2 separate regions of the Homo sapiens genome follow, and region 2 is linked to region 1. Evidence: promoter capture Hi-C in 16 types of primary human blood cells and fetal thymus (Javierre and others, 2016). All regions are on one chromosome and are shown on one strand. Each heading gives the region's core, a stretch centred on a gene start or on the middle of the fragment in contact. The rest is flanking DNA. Distances are from core to core; before and after follow the strand shown. Region 1 holds the start of SIGLEC7 (sialic acid binding Ig like lectin 7). Region 2 holds the start of NOSIP (nitric oxide synthase interacting protein).

Evidence for each region. Contacts are between HindIII fragments. The CHiCAGO score rates a contact against its expected background, and 5 or more counts as called.
Region 2: a contact is called between the fragment with the promoter of NOSIP here and the fragment with the promoter of SIGLEC7 in region 1, in 1 of 17 cell types (neutrophils). The highest score is 6.2, in neutrophils.

Annotation. Positions count from the first base shown.
Region 1 is chr19:51,141,004-51,145,004 of GRCh38, reverse strand. SIGLEC7 (sialic acid binding Ig like lectin 7) reads right to left here and starts at 2,704. Exons shown (of 7, transcript NM_014385.4): 1 at 2,203-2,704; 2 at 321-599; 3 at 46-93. The coding sequence starts at 2,635. The HindIII fragment of the contact is 9,764 bases long and covers 1-4,001 here.
Region 2 is chr19:49,579,173-49,583,172 of GRCh38, reverse strand. It overlaps NOSIP (nitric oxide synthase interacting protein), which reads left to right and starts at 2,617. Exons shown (of 9, transcript NM_001270960.2): 1 at 2,617-2,658. PRRG2 (proline rich and Gla domain 2) reads right to left here and starts at 1,857. Exons shown (of 7, transcript NM_000951.3): 1 at 1,692-1,857. The HindIII fragment of the contact is 25,862 bases long and covers 1-4,000 here.

The sequences.
Region 1 (4,001 bases), core at 1,455-3,954:
TGAAGGCCCTGCTCCCCCAGCCCCAGGGAGGGGGCTCCATCCTACCTGTGCCTTCTCCTTGGAAGACAGTCACAGTCAAGTTCTGAGGAGGGTCTGGGACAGAAAGACATGGAGACCTGCATCACTGTGAGGGCTGGGGACACTGGCCCTGTCTCCCCAGGAGCTGCATAAATGGGGAAGGCGGAGCCAGCGTCCTCCTGATCCCACAACCAGCCCAGATTCTGGGACCCAGCACCCAGTGTCGAGCCCTGACCCCATCCTCTGCCCTCAGGGACGTCCCCCCCTCATCAGGGACCAGGGCGTCCTGGCTCAGCACTCACAGGACACATTGAGTTGGATGGTCCTGTTCGTGGTCACGCCGGCCCCAGGCAAGGTCACCTGACAGGTGAGGCTGGTGCCGTGGTGCTGGGGCTGTGGGATGAGGGTGAGCACTGAGGAGCGGGTGGTGGAGGGGTGCAGGGGGGACACAGAGGTCCCCATCCAGGAGATCATAGGGGGCGTCCCCTGCTCACAGGCCCAGGGCACAGAGCAGGTCAGATTCTGGAAGCAGCCAGACTCCAGGGTACCGGGGATAAGGATGTTGGGCCTGTGGGTCAAGGCTGGTGAAGAGAGGGGGACTCAGGATCAGGACAGAGGATCCATGGTACAGCCCTGGGGGAAGCTCAGGCTCTGGTTCAGCTTCTGCCCTGAGCCCAACTCGCTTCACCCTCAGCCCTCTCCCAGGGCAGGGGCCCCATCCCAGGCTTTCGCTGCCACCCCCATGACCTTTCCCTGTGGTGTCTCCTGGAGCCTGTGCCTTATCTGTCACATTCACAGAGAGCTGCTTCGTTTTGTAATTCCATCTTATCTGTCCTCTCTCCACCTGGAAGTAGTAGTTCCTCAAATCCCCCTTCCTGGCATCTCTGATGCTCAGGGAGCAGTTGTTGGTCTTCAGGTCCCCAAGGAGGTGGAATCGGCCCCGTGTCTCCTGCACTTTTCCATTTGGGATGTTTGTGGCCACTGGATTATTCCATTGTATATTGATCCCTTTCTTAAACCAGCATCCATGGACAGGGCTAGAGTCAGTTCAGTTGTAATAGGGTTAAAGGACACTGCAGGGCACAGAGACGCACTAGCCCTCCTGCACCATCACCAACTCCAGCACCTCCAGCCTGTATCTTGACAGTGGGGCCTGGGACGCTGTGGGGAAATGAGGCTCAGCCCAGCCCCGACTGTCCCTCTCTTCATTTGCCCACAAGAGAGGCAGCAGCATCTCTGAGACAGAGGGTTCCTGGGCTCCTTGTGTGAGCAGAGAAGTGGGAGGGAGAGGAGGGGCAGGGCTGTGGGACCCACAGGGGGCTGGAGAGGGGCTGGAGAGGAGCTGGAGACCTCAACCCAGCACGAAAGAGAAACTACAAACCCACATGCTATAGGAACTGGTTCCCTCTGCACAGAGTGAAGGAAACCCTGAAGCTCAGAGACCCTAGAGACCCACCCAGGGAGGAGAAGAGACCGTGTCCCACCTCCTACCTCCGGGCTTCCCTGGAGCACCAGGGCCTGCACCAGACACGTAGGTCCTGCCCTCCCGGCCTCTGGACCATCGTGGAGGTCCCTCCTGTCTTTTGAGCATCTAAATGTGGATCTCCGAGGACCTCAGGGCATGAGAGATGGAGGGGCCGTGTGCTGAGTCTCCCTGTCCAGGCTCAGGTGCCTCTGCTGCCCTTGGTTTGCGCCAGGAAGTGCTTCCTCCCTGGCCTGGCCTGAGAGAGTCACGGGGTTGTGTAGACCTAAGGCTCTCAACTGGGGAGGACTTAACCCCCCAGGACGTTTAACAATGTGTGGAGATAATTGTTATTGTCTCACTGCATGGGTGGAGTGGGTGCTTCTGGCATCTGGTGGGGAGAGGCCTGGGATGGTGCTAAACCCCGGCCATGCCTAGGACAGGCCCCAAAACAAGGAGTCATAAGGCCCCACATGCCACAATGCCAGCGTCAGAGGCAGGATGAGGATGTCAGGCCTGTGGGTCAGGGCTGGTGAGGGGAGGGGCCTGCAGGATCAGGAGGGGCATCCAAGGTGCGGTCCTGGGGAAGCTCAGGCTCTGGTCCAGCTCCTCTCCTGAGTCCATCACCCCCGGCCCCCTCCCAGGACATGTGTCCCGTCTCAGCCGTGCCCTAAAGCCCTCATCACATTTGCCTTTGGCCTCTCTTGGAGCCCGTGCCTTACCTGTCACGTTCACAGAGAGCTGGTCATATTTATAATTCCATTTTATATTTCCTTTCTCCATACGAAAGAAGTATCTCCCCGCATCACTCATTCTGGCATCTCTGATGCTCAGGGTGCAATTTTTGGTCTGTGGGTCCCCAAGGAGGTGGAATCGGTCCCGAGTTTCCTCCTGCACTGCCCAAGCTGGGTTGTTTGTGGCCACTGGAGCCTTCCAGCTTATATCATTCCCTGCCCGGAACCAGTAGCCATGAACTGGGTCAGAGTCAGTCTGGCTGTCCACTGGGTAGGAGAAGGAGCAGCGCACATGGACACACATGCCCTCTTGCACGGTCACGGAACTCTGCATCGTCAGCGAGTAATCCTTCCGGTTACTCTTCTGTCCTTCCACCCTCTCCCTCCCCCAGAGCAGGGGCAGCAGCAGCAGCAGCAGCATATCTGGGGTTGGAGGTGCCAGGGCCGCGAGGGAACGTCTGTTCCTCAGGGTTCTTCTCTCAGGAACTGCGGGCTCAAGACTTAGAAGAGGCCCTACAGGAAGTCGGTGGTGAGGTCAAAACAGTGACCTCCTTAGAAGAAGAACTTCACACACAGACACTGTCAGGGCTGGGTCAGCCCTGGGAGATCCACCGTCCACCACCCGACATTCACTCCTGGGTCCCTGAGGCCAGAGCGGGAGACAGACTCACCCAGATTCCCACCCCATGCAGGGCCCACCCCACCTCCTGCCTCCCTCTCAATGCCTTTCCCTTTAGGTGATATTTTCTGCAGGGTGAAAATAACTCCCATCTGCCCAGACCCCTGAGTCACAGGCTGTGGATGTCTGCGTAGCTCAGAAGTGGGACTCGGGGCCATGAGAGACAGGGGTGCAGGTGGGGTGAACAGGCAGCCTCTCATCCCTCCCTCAGCAGCCACGAGGTGGGCACCCCCTTTCTGCACAATGAGGTCAACACAGCAGAGCCGGACACTGTCCCCAAGGAGTCACTGTGTGGTGGGGAGACACTGAGTCTCCTGACGTTTGAGCTCCCCATGACAGGAGCTTCAGTGGGGGGCACAGGCAGGGTGGGGTCACTCTCCCCTAGGTCGGGGGTTCAGTCTCAGGAGGACCGAGCAGACGGACATGGGGCTGTGAAGGTGAGGATTGCGCCTGTTGATACACGCCAAGGACACGGAGGGGAGCCCAGCCTGCAGGAGGCCGGGGAAGCTGAGGCTGTGATTGTTGTATTGTGGGGCTTGGTAGACAGGAAAGTCATAAGGGAAAGGATCAATATGAAAAGAGCAGACACTATTCCCATCCTCACAGCTCTCTGAGCACAAGGACATTTCCCTTCACCACTGCTATCTCATGAGGCCTGGTTAGTGCAGAGTGTGAGGGGTCTGCTGGCCCTGGGGCTTTGCTCCTGCAGGAACTGCTCCTAGGGGTTCAGGTGAACAGGAGACGTGGAGCAAAGACACCAGCCCCGGGGCGTCCACCCTCAGTGATGGGCGCGATTTTCTGAGAGAAGAAACACGCACCTGACTTCAACAGAAGATTATTTTAAACTGTGTGACTGGGCTGGGAGGAAGTGGGAAAAATCCTGCAAGCTGCAGCCCCCTTAGATCCAGGCCAGCTTTTCTTGAAACAGTTTTTTTTGAGCGGGGAGAAACACAAGACATGTACATAAAAGTGTCCCCTAAAAACCAACTCAGTGATTCACACAAAATAAGCACCCTTGAAGAACTAGAACACAAAAGAACTGTCAAGTCTGTCCCTTGAAATGAAGAAAGAGATTTTATTAATTCATTCACCCTTACATTCCCCTTTC
Region 2 (4,000 bases), core at 1,368-3,867, 1.6 Mb after region 1:
TAGTCCCTGGGTAATGAGGCAGTGCCTCTCTGACTGGCCTCTGTGGTCCACGAATGGCAATAATAGCAGCCACTTACACAGCCTGTATTCTGTGCCAGATACTGTTTACCTATATAAACTCATTTTACTTTTTTTTTTTTTTGACATGGAGTCTCGCTCTGTCAGCCAGGCTGGAGTGCAGTGGCACAGTCTCAGCTCACTGCAACCTCTGTGTCCTGGGTTCAAGCGATTCTCGTGCCTCAGCCTACCAAGTAGCTGGGATTACAGGCATGCGCCACCACACCCGCTAATTTTCTTTTTTTTTTGAGACAGAGTCTCGCTCTGTCACCCAGGCTAGAGTGCATTGGTGTGATCTCCGCTCACTGCACACTCCACCCCCCAGGTTCATGCCATTCTCCTGCCTCAGCCTCCCGAGTAGCTGGGACTACAGGTGCCGGCCACCATGCCCGGCTAATTTTTTTGTATTTTTAGTAGAGATGGGGTTTCACTGTGTTAGTCAGGATGGTCTCGATCTCCTGACCTCGTGATCTGCCCGCCTCAGCCTCCCAAAGTGAATTTTCATATTTTTAGTAGAGATGGGGTTTCACCATGTTGGCCAGGCTGGTCTTGAATTCCTGACCTCAAGTGATCTGCCTGCCTCAGCCTCCCAAAGTGCTGGTGCTGGGATTACAGGCGTGAGCCACTGTGCCCGGCCTCAACTCATTTTACTTTTCACAGGAGTCATACAAAAATTAGCCAGGCGTGGTTGTGGGCGCCTGTAATCCCAACTACTTGGGAGGCTGAGCCAGAATAATCACTTGAAAGGGGAGACAGAGGTTGCAGTGAGCCGAGACTGTGCCACTGCACTCCAGCCTGGGTGACAGAGCGAGATTCCATGTCAAAAACAAAACAAAACAAAACTTTTCACAGGAGTTTTTTTTTTTTTTTTTTTTTAGACAGAGTCTCGCTCTGTCACCCAGGCTGGAGTGCAGTGGCGCTATCTCAGCTCACTGTGACCTCTGCCTCCTGGGTTCAAGCGATTCTCCTGACTCAGCCTCCCGGGTAGTTGAGATTACAGGTGCGCACCACCACGCCTGGCTAATTTTTTGTATTTTTAGTAGAGATGGGGTTTCACCATGTTGGCCAGGCTGGTCTCAAACTCCTGACCTCAAGTGATCCACCCGCCTCGGCCTCCCAAAGTGCTGGGATTACAGGTGTGAGCCACTGCGCCCGACCAGGAGTCCTATTATTATCCCCAGTATAGAGAACAGGAAACTGAGGCACAGAGAGGTAATATAGCTTGCCGAAGGTCACACAGTGTGCAAGTGTGAGAGCCAGGATTTCAGTGAAGGCAGTGTCCGCCAGAGAAGAAAGCAAGGAGCAGGCAGCTTATCTTTCTTTCCCCACTGTGTCTACAGCACCTGACACAGATGCTTATAAACATGTCCACTGGTGATCTGGAGTCTTCCCTTCCTGGTAATTTCCACTTGTGCCTCTTTCTGTGCTCATTGTCACATCCACCCACAGACAACAAAGATTACGAGAGAGGCAGAGGCAGGGGATTAGTTATATTATTGGGTCTAGGGACCTAAGTGGGCAGGGGCCCTGGACTCCTGGGCCTAGGAGCCCCAAACTTCTGGGTCTCGGAGGGGCGGGGAGCCAGGATGCCTGGGTCCCCAAGCCAGGCTCTTCCTCCAGGGACATTCACTTACCTGCCCAGAAATGTGAGCACTGCCCCTTCCTCTTTAATCGAGAACTCCTTGGCCAGCTACAGCCAGCTGTGAAAGGGGACAGGGAAGAGGGGAGGGGATAAGGAGGAGGGGCGCCCCACTCCCGGTAACCAGGCCTGATCCCCGTTTCTGGCAGGTGGGCGGAACTTGCCATTACCTGCCCTGGGCGGGACTCAGGTAAGGGACAAAGTATTTAAAGGGACCTTGGGATAAAGGACTTAAAGGCCAGAGCTCCATGAGGAAGCCAAGGTGTCGAATACCATGGGATACCTGGGGGATTAGATTCGACCCTCCTCCTCCCTCCCGACCCCTACCCGCTCTGGCTCTCCCCTGGGAGTTCGTCTGTCCGAGCTAGAAAAATTAATATCTAGGTCTCTAGGTATCTAGAAACTAGCGGGAACGATATGCCTTAGTCCCTGGGACAGCTGGGCAGTGCCGCAGTAAATCCCTGTTTCCTGAGAGCGACTTGAACGGCTTTGATTTTCAATTTCCCAATGGCTCTGTCTGTAAAATGGGAGCGTAGTTGTCTCTTCTCAATTGTTTTAAGATGCAGCAAGAAAAGTGGATGATATATTTGGGAAAGTGGGCTTCCCGATCTCTAGGGGAAGTGATTAGTCCTTAAATTTGGGCTTGGAGAGACTCAAAACCTGGGAACCAAGCAGGAAAAAACGATCTCCCTGGGAAATGCCTCGTACATAGTAAGCGTTCCCCATATTCCCACCAGTTTCAATATCCGGAACTTTCGATTAGCTACTCACGTTTCCGGAGAGAGAAAGAGAAGAGAGGACTTGAGCAAGCCAGGCGAGGCACTTCCGCAACTAGGGGCAGCTCTACTTCCGGTGCCTTCTGCTGGGCGGAAGTGGGCGGAGCGGAGGGGGAAAATAGTGCTCCTTTCCGGTGTCGGGGCACAGTTGAAGAAGCGACCGAGGGACTGGGAGTCGTTAGTGAGGTGAGTTCGAGGCGGTGCAGGAAGAGTGTTGCTGGGATCGCTTTCCTGCGGGCTAGAGGCCTGGGGTCTTGAGGGAGACTGGGGCAAGATTTTGGATTCCCGATTCCCTGTCAATCATTATTAATACAGCTGTCCGGGCGCCCCAAGTTTGAAGCTGAACTACACTCTGCTGGAGGTGGCCAACCGTCCATCGGGCAGTTCTCTCTCTCTTTGTCTCTCTCTCTCACTATAAACTCAGTCAAGTGGTAGCTAGCATCGGCCAGTTCTCCTGAGAGTTACAGTTCTGCTGTAGATGATGGCTATTTGCTGGTGGTCCCAAGGGAAGGAGTGGACTGGGATTGCTGGGGGTCTAAGGAGTGGGAGTTGAGGAGGGAGAACTCCTTTCCTGGCCTCAGTTTCTCAGACTGTGGTGGGACGGCGGGCGATACTAGATTGTGCAGTCATCCATCGCCACCTTCTCTTCACCTTTTTGACAGCCCCTTCCCTTTCGGGGTTGGTGCAGGGATTCACGTTTTCTTGTGTGGAGCTTCGGGGTCAGGCAGTCATGGATTCCCATTCTGATTGTGCTGCTAATTCTGTGAACTTGGGGCTTGAACGGTCCTTGAGGCAGTTTGATGTTAATGTTTTCTTACGAAAATGTTCAAACTTATATAAAAGTGAGAGAAGAATACAGGAATTCCTGTCACCCAAATCACCAATGATTATTTTTGCCATACTTGCTGTATTTTTTTAAACTTAAAGAGATTAAAACAAATCGTAGGCATCATGACACTTAAGGATTGTCAAAAGACAAAATTGCAACACATTTAGTGAGAAGATCTTAATTGGCATTTATTCGTGAATCTACAATCAAACAACATCTAATTATGGAAAATAGCGTGAGTGTTCCGATGAGCTGAGCAGAGGTTGTTTTCAGAGACAAAGGGCTGAGAAAATCAGAAACGGAAAACAAAAAGCTAGTTGATTAAATTGATTAACTTGATTAAATTTCTAAGTTAAAGGTTAAAGTAGAGGGGACTTCCTTTATCAGGTGGGCTAAAACTGGGTTGTTTGGGGATTTGGCTATTATCTCTCTCCTGATATCTCAGAAGATCAGATATCAACTTAGTTTTGGCTTGGAAGCATGGAACTTTAGCATGAGTGTCTCCATTTTGGTTTGGTCTGTTGAACCTAGTGCAGGAGCTCAATCCAAACCAATGACCTTCTATAAATTTTATCTAACAGGGTGCGTGTGTAAAAACCAGAAACATTGCTGATATGACCACAATACCATCATCACACTTTAAAAGAACAACCGTAATTCTAGACTACTATCCATTACGTGGTGCAGAGTCAAGTCCAG